Linked DNA regions of Homo sapiens: region 2 is linked to region 1. The links are contacts of gene promoters, found by promoter capture Hi-C in human tissues and cell types (Jung and others, 2019). All regions are on one chromosome and are shown on one strand. Each heading gives the region's core, a stretch centred on a gene start or on the middle of the fragment in contact. The rest is flanking DNA. Distances are from core to core; before and after follow the strand shown. Region 1 holds the start of KCNK6 (potassium two pore domain channel subfamily K member 6). Region 2 overlaps SIPA1L3 (signal induced proliferation associated 1 like 3).

Region 1 (5,218 bases), core at 547-3,046:
TGGGTGTTGTGGCGGGCATCTATAATTCCAGCTACTTAGGAGGCTGAGGCAGGAGAATTGCTTGAACCCAGGAGGCAGAGGTTGCAGCGAGCCGAGATTGTGCCATTGCACTCCAGCCTGGGAGACAGAGCGAGACTCTTGTCTCAAAAAAAAAAAAAAAAAAAAAAAAAAAGCAAGTTCATTAGTTCATTGGCTTCCTGCTGGCCTCATGTTCACCCCTTACCAGTTGTGTGACTACTACTTTTTATTTTTTTGAGGCAGGGTCTACTCTATCACCCATACTGGAGTGCAGTGGTGCGACCATAACTCATTGCAGTCTCTAATTCCTGAGCTCAAACGATCCTCCTGCCTCAGCCTCCCGAGTAGCTGGGACTACAGACGCATGCCACCACACTTGGCTAATTTTTGTATTTTTTGTCGAGATGGGGTTTTGCCATGTTGCCCGAGCTGGTCTCAAATGACTACTTCATTTTTAAGCCTAAATTTTCTCATCTGTTTAGTGGGAATTATATTGGGACGGGGTTGAGAATTCAGTGCAAGTTCAGGTGTCCACAGGGCCTGGCAGAATGTAAGCCTTCGATCACTGGCACCTATTGTGTTACTGATTCTATTATCAGGTGCCTCTGCTTCTGGATTGTCAACCCCAAGTTGGGCTCTGCCCGGTGATCTGCCAGCTCTTTAATAGAACCAGCTGGGACATGTCTGAGCTGAGCCCCAAGCCCCACTCCTCTGCCAGTCGGATGGGGTTAGGACTCTGGGCTGCCCTCCAAAAGGCTGTCAGGAAGGCGCTGAGTTCTGGCTGGAGGCAGAAGTGGAGAGACTTACGGGGGGGCGCAGAAAGAAAAATTTCCTCTTAAATAGAGGCGTGTATTTGTGATTCTGCCTGGCTTGTTTCCATTCATCCTTCATGCTTCAGCTCAGCTAGCCCCTTCCTCAGGAAGCTCTCTTGACCTCCCTAGGCAGGGGTGGTTGCTTCCTCTGGACTCCCAGGGCCCTCTAGGGCTCCCTGATTCCAGGCTTGATCATTGTACCCTTGCTTCCCTCATCACAGCCCTGACCACTCTGGGCTGTCTTTTTTCTTTTTTTTAGAGATAGGGTCTCACTCTCTCCCAGGCATAGCTCACTGCAGCCTCGAACTCCTGGGCTCAAGCAATCCTCCGACCTCAGCCTCCCGAGTAGCTGGGACAACAGGCGTGGGTCACTCTTGTGTCAGTCTCCCAGTTAGACTGGGAGCCCCATGAATGCATGGCGCAGGATGGTCTCATCATTACTGAGTCTCCAGGATCATCCAGCGAGGGGTCAGCAGAAAGTGGGCATTGAACAAAGCTTTGGTGAGTAGCTGAGGATCCCCACTCTGTCCACACGGGCACAGGGGACACCTGACTCTGTGGTGTCCGCTGTTCCCACTCCGAGGCTCACAACTTGGCGAATGGAGCGAGAATTGGATTTCAGTTTGCCCCTTGCTCCGTCAGCCGCGCGCCCTGATGCAGTGCACAACCTTAGCTGCTGTGCGCGATGGGGGGCGACTCCTCGGCCTGCGAGCAGAGAGGAAAGTTCAGATTCTTCTAACATAGAGAACCAGCCTTCCAGGAGGACGAGAAGGAAGGAATGAGGGGAAGAGAGGACTACCTCCACCCTTTCCATCCCGTTGGTCTGCTGGGTCTGGGAGCACTGGGCTCCACCCTCTCCGAACGAACACCTGGCGGTTGGGCGTGCCTCAGTTTCCCGGAGGCGGGGCATTCCTCCGTCGCCGCCCCCCACCTCCCCTTTTTCCTCTTCCTCTTGGGGCATCTGCTGCCGCGCCTGTAGCACTCCCGGAACTGGAACTAGGTGCCAGACGGTCCGGAGGCGGGGGCCACGTCAGCGGGGCCACCCAGGGCTCGCGGGGTCCCGGTGGGTGCCATGCGGAGGGGCGCGCTTCTGGCGGGCGCCTTGGCCGCGTACGCCGCGTACCTGGTGCTGGGCGCGCTGTTGGTGGCGCGGCTGGAGGGGCCGCACGAAGCCAGGCTCCGAGCCGAGCTGGAGACGCTGCGGGCGCAGCTGCTTCAGCGCAGCCCGTGTGTGGCTGCCCCCGCCCTGGACGCCTTCGTGGAGCGAGTGCTGGCGGCCGGACGGCTGGGGCGGGTCGTGCTTGCTAACGCTTCGGGGTCCGCCAACGCCTCGGACCCCGCCTGGGACTTCGCCTCTGCTCTCTTCTTCGCCAGCACGCTGATCACCACCGTGGGTACGTAAGCGCCTCACCGCAAGGCGGCGAGGACCCGGGATCCCCACTTCATCCTTAACCCCTGGGGACCCCGGGGCCCTCACGAATACCCTTATCCCAATCCCCTCTGGGCTTCGGATCCCCCGAAAAGACCCCAGTGAGGACCCGGGACCCAGGCTCATGATATCTGCTCTGCTCGGGGAGCCCAAGTCCGAGCCCTTCCTCCTAAGTAGGAAACACCCAGCTCCCCTCAGAGTACCTTTGCAGAGACCAGCTGGGACCCCGTTCCTCGGTCTTTTTTTTTTTTCTTTTCTTTTTCTTTTTTTGAGACAGGGCTTACTCTGTCGCCCAGGCTGGAGTGCAGTGGCACGATCTCGGATCACGGCAGCCTCCGCCTCCCGGTTTCAAGCTATTCTCCTGCTTCAGCCTGCCGAGTAGCTGGGATTACAGGCACATACCACCATGCCTGGCTAATTTTTGTATTTTCAGTGGAGACGGAGTTTCACCATGTTGGCCAGGCTGGTCCCAAACTCCTGACTTCAGGTGATCAGCCCGCCTCGCCCTCCCAAATTGCTGGCATTACAGGCTTGAGCCACTGCACTGGGACTGCATTCCCCGGTCTTAATCCTCTTGGTGACCCGGGTCTGTCCAGCCCCCTCTAAGCCTAGGACTGTCCTCAGAGACCTCCAGCAAGGACCCAGGACACGCCACCCTCCAAGGGAGATCCTTGCCCCCTCTGGACCCAGAACTCAACCATGCCAGGACCCCTGACTTTATCTCTAGTCTGGGCCTGCCACCCTTGCCATGTCTCCTGACCCTCCAGATATGTCCTTCTGGGAAACCCCCCTGGAGAAACCCCATCTCAACCTCCTCCTGACCCTGGCGCCTTAGCGAGGACCCTAAATCTCCAGACCTCTCAGGGTGTCCTCACTAAAGACCTCCCTCCCAACAGAGATTCCTCAGCAAGGACCTGGCACCGCCATCTGGGACTCCTGGCCCTCTGGACCTGGGCCTCTGCTCCAGACTGTCATCTGTCTCCTGGCCCCATACTCCCCAGCAGGCAACTCTGACCCCAGACACAAAACCCTTCCCTAGGTACCCCACCCCATCTTGACATCTCCCCTATATGGGGTCACTCTCAATGCAGGATTTTCCTCCCAATAGGGACACCACCTGTTCCCTCTGGACCTGGGACTCCCAATTCAGCAGCCCCAGCTAGGGATGTGTCAAAAGGACCCACCGTGGAGGGACCCCGAGTTTTGGGAAACCCTGAGAAGCCAGACTTGGGAAATCTCTTTGTTGCCAGGCTCTGCTGCTCCCCCAGCCCCTTCTCAGCTCCCAGACTTCCTCTTTGTTTCTTTGTTGGGGATTTGTTGAGGAGAGGAGGCTGGTGCAGGGTTAGCCCAGACTCCTAACTCGCCCTCCCGGCCAACAATAGGGGGCAGCTTTTGCTTTTGGTCCCCTGGCAGCAGAGCTGGGTGACTTCTCGTTAGCTGACCTCCCCTGGGTCTGCCCATGCTGCCAGGGCGGCCTGACCTGCTTCTGAGCTTCCCTGGGTCATGTGCACGCCTCCTACCTCTTCCCAGATCCTGGCTTCTAAGAAGTCATCCCTGGCAGGGCAGATGAGGGAAGCCAGACACACGTCAGGCACAGCCTGGCTACATCCCTGCTCAGCCGCGGCTCATTGCCAGGCCTCAGTGTCCTCCCCCATTGCTAAAATGGAGATAATAACACTCCCCATTTCCCTGTAATAGCAGTAGCCTGACAGAGGACTTGCCAATGCATGCTTTAACTCACTTAATCATCACAACAGCCTTGTGAGGCAGGCGCCTTTATAGGCTGTATATTTTTAGCCATGGAAACCGAAGCCTAGAGAAGTTGGGTAACTTTCCTAAGGTCACACAGCAAAGACGGCATAGAGTAGAGATTTAGTCAAGGCCATCAGGCTCTAGAGTCCCATGCTGCTAGCCAACACACCACACTACTTAGAAGAAGGGTGCTGTGTGTGTTGTAAAAGAAAAAAATATGCTAACACTTGTTAAAAATGGAAAGTTATTGTGGTAGAGGAGAGACCATTGCAAAGGCCAGAGAGACTGAACTCAACTGTGAATATAGCAAACACAGCTGGAGTTTTATGGCTAACAAGTAGAATAAGGGAGTCAGTGGATGGAAGAATACTAAGAGGAGAGACATTCGGGTAGGGGGATTCTTGCTAAACTCAGCTTAACAAGATTCTTGCTAAAGACAGGCCAAGGACTTAGATATTGAGAGGGGGTGGATGAGGGCCAGGCGCAGTGGCTTACGCCTATAATCCCAGCACTTTGGAGGGCCGAGGTGGGCAGATCACCTGAGGTTAGGAGTTCGAGACCAGCCTGACCAACATGGTGAAACCCCGTCTACTAAAAATACAAAAATCAACCGAGCATTGTGGCAGGCACCTGTAATTCCAGCTACTCGGGAGGCTGAGGCAGGAGAATCACTTGAACCTGGGAGGCAGAGGTTGCAATAAGCTGAGATTGTGCCACTGCACTCCAGCCAGGGCAACAGAGTGAGACTCCATCTCAAAAAAACAAAAAACAGGCCGGGCAAGTTGGCTCACGCCTGGAATCCCAGCACTTTGGGAGGCTGAGGCGGGCGGATCACCTGAGGTTAGGAGTTCGAGACCAGCCTGGCCAACATGACGAAACCCCATCTCTACTAAAAATACAAAAATTAGCCAGGCATGATAGTGCGTGGCTGTAATCCCAGCTACTTGGGAGGCTGAGGCAGGAGGATCACTTGAACCTGGGAGGCGGAGGTTGCAGTGAGCCGAGATCTCGCCCCTGCACTCCAGGCTGGGCGTTAGAGCAAGACTCTGTCTCAAAACAAACAAACAAAAAAGAGTGGTGGATGAGGAATTTGATCAGATATCGGGGTGGGTGGCTTGTAGGATTCTTGCTAAAACTGGGCCTACTTAAGGACTCAGGAGTCAGACTGAAGTGCGGTCAAGGAGGGAGTCTTTGTCCGTGCGAAGCG
Region 2 (5,218 bases), core at 1,689-4,188, 370 kb before region 1:
GGATCACGAGGTCAGGAAATAGAGACTATCCTGGCCAACACAGTGAAACCCCGTCTCTACTAAAATGCAAAAAATTAGCCGGGCATGGTGGCGGGCGCCTGTAGTCCCAGCTACTCGGGAGGCTGAGGCAGGGGAATCACTTGAACCCAGGAGGCGGAGGCTGCAGTGAGCCGAGATCACACCACTGCACTCCAGCCTGGCGACAGAGCAAGACTGTCTCAAAAAAAAAAAAAAAAAAAAAAAGCCCCACTGTTGTGGAATGTCCTGGTCTACCTGGTTTGGACTTAGAAATGCCTTAGGAGTAGCCTGGGCAGTTCAGGTCATTCCTTATCTTCCTGCCATAGGGATTGGTTCAAGGAAGGGAGGAGGTGAGTCAGTCCAATCAGAATTAAGACAGGTCTTTCTCTGGAGCTCCCAGGAAAGAAGAGGAGCTTTCTTCCTATGGAGGTGCCAAGTTGTAGAGTGTAAGCTTAATGCTGCTGGGGGCCTGGGGACCATCTTTGCTCAGAGGGTCGAGTGGAAAGGAGATGGAAATAATTCATTACAGACAAATTCTTTGGGTAACTGAACTTCTCAGTAATGGGAGCCAAAACATTGGCCCTTTTTCCCCTCAAGTCAGTTTGAATTGGGTCTCTGCCACTTGCAACCGAAAGAGTCCTAAGTAATACAGTAATTTTAGTGGACCCTAGAATCTATATTTAAATTTAAAAAATTCTCTGCCAGGCGCAGTGGCTCATGCCTGTAATCCTAGCACTTTGGGATGCCGAGGTGGGTAGATCACTTGAGGCCAGGAGTTCAAAACCAGCCTGGCCAACATGGTGAAACCCTGTCTTTACTAAAAATGCAAAAACTAGCCAGGTGTGGTGGCAGGCACCTGTAATCCCAGCTACTCAGGGGGCTGAGGCAGGAGAATTCCTTGAACCCGGGTGGTGAAGGTTGCAGTGAGCCAAGATCGTGCCATTGCACTCCAGCCTGAGGAACAGAGTGAGACTCTGTCTCAAAAATAAAATAAAATATAAAAATAAATAAATAATTCTCCAGAAATGATTTGTATGAATCAGATATTTGAGAACCACTTTGCTAGACTTTCCTGAGTGGCGGTTCTTAGCTTTATGTGATCAACAGACTGGCCTGGGGAACTTGTTAAAATACAGCAGCTCTGTTCCACATTGCTGGAGATTCTGGTTTGGGGCCTGAGGCCTGGGTATCTGCATTTTGAACACCATCCTGGGTGATTGCATACACTTCAGAGTGTGTGTATGCACAGAGGATTCTTGGCCGGGCACGGTGGCTCACGCCTGTAATCCCAGCACTTTGGGAGGCCGAGGTGGGTGGATTACAAGGTCGGGAGATCCTGGCTAACATGGTGAAACTCCGTCTGTACTAAAAATACAAAAACAATTAGCCAGGCGTGGTGGCGGAGGCCTGTAGTCCCAGCTACTCAGGAGGCTGAGGCAGGAGAATGGCGTGAACCCGCATTCTCAGCTTACAATCCTATCCATAGAGGGGGCCCAGGATCCTTCTCAAATGAATGAAAGTAGAGTTTAAGTCTGCAGTTTTTTTCCTCTTTGGAAAAAAACATTCCTTTCCTGCCCATGACCCAGCCTTGCACACTGGCCGCTAAACCTGGCGTATCGCATCATGTTTCAGGAGGAATTTGGTCAGATCTGTGCACTTTATTAGGATAATGGTTGACCCAGTGTGTACCTCCCCAGGTAACTTTGGAAAGAGCTGGATAGAGTTCATGACCAATTCGGAACAAAGTCTGCTCTTAGGAGGAATTTTGCTAATAGTGGGAAATATTCAAGAGGGTAATCACTGACTTAGTTCAAGGTAATTTAAGGTGAATGCATTCCTCATGTGTGTGTGTGTGTATGTGTGTGCATGCGTGCCAAACTTACTTGAGGTGAAGGAGGGGCGAAAGCCCTTTTACTCGAATGAAAGGAAATCTTTTGAATTGACCTATCGGTTCAGAAAATCCCTTTTCAAATCTTCCCTTGAGCAGCTTTGCTTTTGAGGCCCCTGAAAGCTGGGAAAGAAGGGGCTGTGAGGCCTGACTGACTCCTCGCTGCTGGCTGTACCCCCAGGCACGTGTGATTTTGCCATTGTCTGAAATCTTGCTTTCCCCAGAATTTGTGCCCCATGCTGAGTTCCTACAGCTCAGCCACCAGGAATTAGGGCATGGGTTAGCCAGGATTATTCAAATTTAATCTGATCATCGTTAAACATTTTTGCTTGCATCCTCCCCAAAAGAATTTTGATAAGCCCCTGTATACCTCCTTGTACACTGTAAAGCTAACATCTAAAATAAGCTTATGGTAACTTTAAATTTGTCTTATTTGTGGGAGAAGAAAATAGTACACATTTTGAAGGTCGAATGTAATTGAAATATTTTATGATGTGGTTAGATAAAAAAAAGTTTTTACTACCTTATTGAGTAAAGTACACAGAAGCTGAAAGCAATCATGTAAATTTTTCCCTGGGAATTTTTTCTTGGTGGATCTAGAAAAATTCAGTGGTCCTGAAAAATGTTCCCTTTGAACAAATCAGAGCCACTAACCTATACTGCTTTGACATTCATGATCCTACTATGGTTCAGAAAATCCTATTTTTAAAGCCCAGTTTCATGTTTGGCAGAAAGATACTTAAGTCAGGGAAAGACAGGCAAGTCTGGGGGTTTAAGTAGCTTTTTATTGTTCACTAAAGGCTACTTCCCCGAAACCAATATTGATGTTGTGTGTTTGGAGTCCTGGAGGTTTACACACCTCTCGGTCGTGCTCCTTGGGAAAATGGGGGAGTGCACAACAGCGGGTGGGCAGTGGGGAAGGAGACAGGCTGGTTTGCAGCCAGATCAGTTTTAGGAAGAGGAACTTGTGGATGTTGAGGATCTGAACATTGCTTCCCTTGAAAACACTGTTTTCAAGATACTCCTGTATCTGTTAAGTTTCCGTAAACCCCTAGTGATAAGCACATCCAAGCGTGAAGCCTCTCGGCTTTAAGAACCAGGCGGTTTCATATGGAGTGGGAAGTCCAGAGGTGATTAGGTTACAGAAGTTGTCACCACCACCGCCTGTATGTGTGTATATATACACACGTGCCATAAAAGTCACCCATTCAGAATATGCAATTCAGGCTGGGCGCAGTGGCTTATGCCTGTAATCCCAGTACTTTGGGAGGCCAAGGCAGGCAGATCTCTTGAGGCCAGGAGTTCGAGACCAGCAAGGACAACATGGTGAAACCCTGTCTCTACTAAAAATACAAAAATTAGCCAGGCATTGTGGTGCATGCCTGTAGTCCCAGGTACTTGGGTAGCTGAAGCACGAGGATTGCTTGAACACAGGAGGCGGGGGTTGCAGTGAGCCGGGATCACACCACTGCACTCCAGCCTGGGTGACAGAGTGAGATGCTGTCTCTCAAAAAAAAAAAAAAAAAAAAAGGCCAGGCATGGTGGCTCACACCTGTAATCCTAGCACTTTGGCAGGCCGAGGTGGGTAGATCACCTGAGGTCGAGAGTTTGAGACCAGCCTGACCAACATGGAGAAACCCCGTCTCTACTAAAAATACAAAATTAGCCAGGTGTGTTGGCACATGCCTGTAATCCCCGCTACTCAGGAGGCTGAGGCAGGAGAATCGCTTGAACCTAGGAGGCGGAGGTTGCCGTGAGCCAAGATCGCACCATTGCATTCCAGCCTGGGCAACAAGAGCAAAACTCTGTCTCAAAAAAAAAAAAAAAGAGTATGCAATTCAGCTGTTTTTGGTAAATTTGTGAAGCTGCATAACTATCACCACAATCCAGTTTTAGAATATTACCACCACCCCAAAAGATATCCATCTTGTACCTCTTTGCAGGCAGTCCTTGCTTCCACGCCTAGGCCCAGGCTACCACTAACCTGCTCTTTGTCTCTGTAGATTTGCGTTTCCTGAACATTTCAAATACATGCAGTCATACAGTATGTAGTCTTTTCTGTACCAGGCTTCCGTCACTTAGCATAATGTTTCTGCGCTTCCTCCAGGTGATAGCTCATATCAGTCGTTCATTTGTTCTTATTGCTGAATAATATTCTATTGTATGGGTAAACCACATTTTGTTTATTCGTTAACCATGAATGGATAATTTCATTACCATTATTCGTTAATGGATACTTGGATTGTTTCCAGTTTGGGCTAGTATGAGTAGTGCTGTTATAGACATTTATGTTCAGGTCTTTGTGTGGACATGTTTTCATTTCTGCTCAGGAGTGGAATTACTGGGTCATTTGGTAACTCTGTTTAAGTTTTTAAGAAACTGCCAGATTGTTTTCCAAAGTGGCTGCGCCATTTTCATAGATAGGGTCTCATGATGTTGTCCAGGCTGGAGTACAATGGCTATTCACAGGCGTGATCATGGCGCACTACAGTATCAAACTCCTGGGCTCAAGCTGTTTTCCCGCTTCAGCCTCCTGAATAGTTGGGACCACAGGTGCGTGCCACCGCCCCTGGCTGGGGTCCAGTATTTCTTTATCCTCACCAACGCTTATTGTTACAGCCATCCTGGTGGGTGTGCAGTGGTATCTCATTGTAGTTGTGATTTGCATGTCTCTGATGACTAATGCTGTTGATCATCTTTTTATGTGCTTATTGGCCATTCGTGTATCTTCTTTGGTGAAATATGTATTTGTATTGTTTGCCTATTTCTTAATCTTGTTATTTCATTGAGTTGTAAGAGTTCTTGATATGTTCTGGATAACACTCATCAGATATGTAGTTTGCAAATATTTTTTCCCAGAAAATATTTTTATTTTTTTAGTCATGCCTTTGGAAGTATAAAAGTTTTGTTTTTTTTTTTTTTTGAGACTGAGTCTCACTCTTGTCACCCAGGTTGGAGCAGTGGCACAATCTCGGCTCACTGCAATCTCTGCCTCCCGGGTTCAAGCAATTCTCCTGCCTCAGCCTCCTGAGTAGCCGGGATTACATGCACACGCCACCATGCCCAGCTAATTTTTGTATTTTTAGTAGAGATGGGGTTTCGCCATGTTGGCCAGGCTGGTCTTGAACTCCTGACCTCAAGTGATCCGCCCACCTTGGCCTCCCAAAGTGTTGGGATTACAGGTGTGAGCCACCACGCCCACCCTAATATAAAAGTTTTTAATTTTGGAAATTCCGTTTATCAATTAGTCTTTTATGGATTGTGCTTTTGGTATTATATTTAAGAACTCTTTGACCCAGTATCATGAAGTTC

What was found. Contacts are between HindIII fragments. The study calls those that stand out against the background at their distance.
Region 2: a fragment that was not itself captured here is called in contact with the fragment with the promoter of KCNK6 in region 1 in 1 of the 25 tissues and cell types used here (lymphoblastoid cells).

Annotation. Positions count from the first base shown.
Region 1 is chr19:38,318,049-38,323,266 of GRCh38, forward strand. It overlaps KCNK6 (potassium two pore domain channel subfamily K member 6), which reads left to right and starts at 1,797. Exons shown (of 3, transcript NM_004823.3): 1 at 1,797-2,224. The coding sequence starts at 1,903. It also overlaps a transcript of YIF1B not described here. RefSeq lists an enhancer at 1,625-2,248 and a silencer at 1,890-1,979. The HindIII fragment of the contact is 11,421 bases long and covers 1-5,218 here.
Region 2 is chr19:37,951,674-37,956,891 of GRCh38, forward strand. The region is part of intron 1 of SIPA1L3 (signal induced proliferation associated 1 like 3); the gene reads left to right. Among named protein-coding and RNA genes, the nearest start is that of SIPA1L3, 47 kb to the left of the region's middle. The HindIII fragment of the contact is 6,266 bases long and covers 1-5,218 here.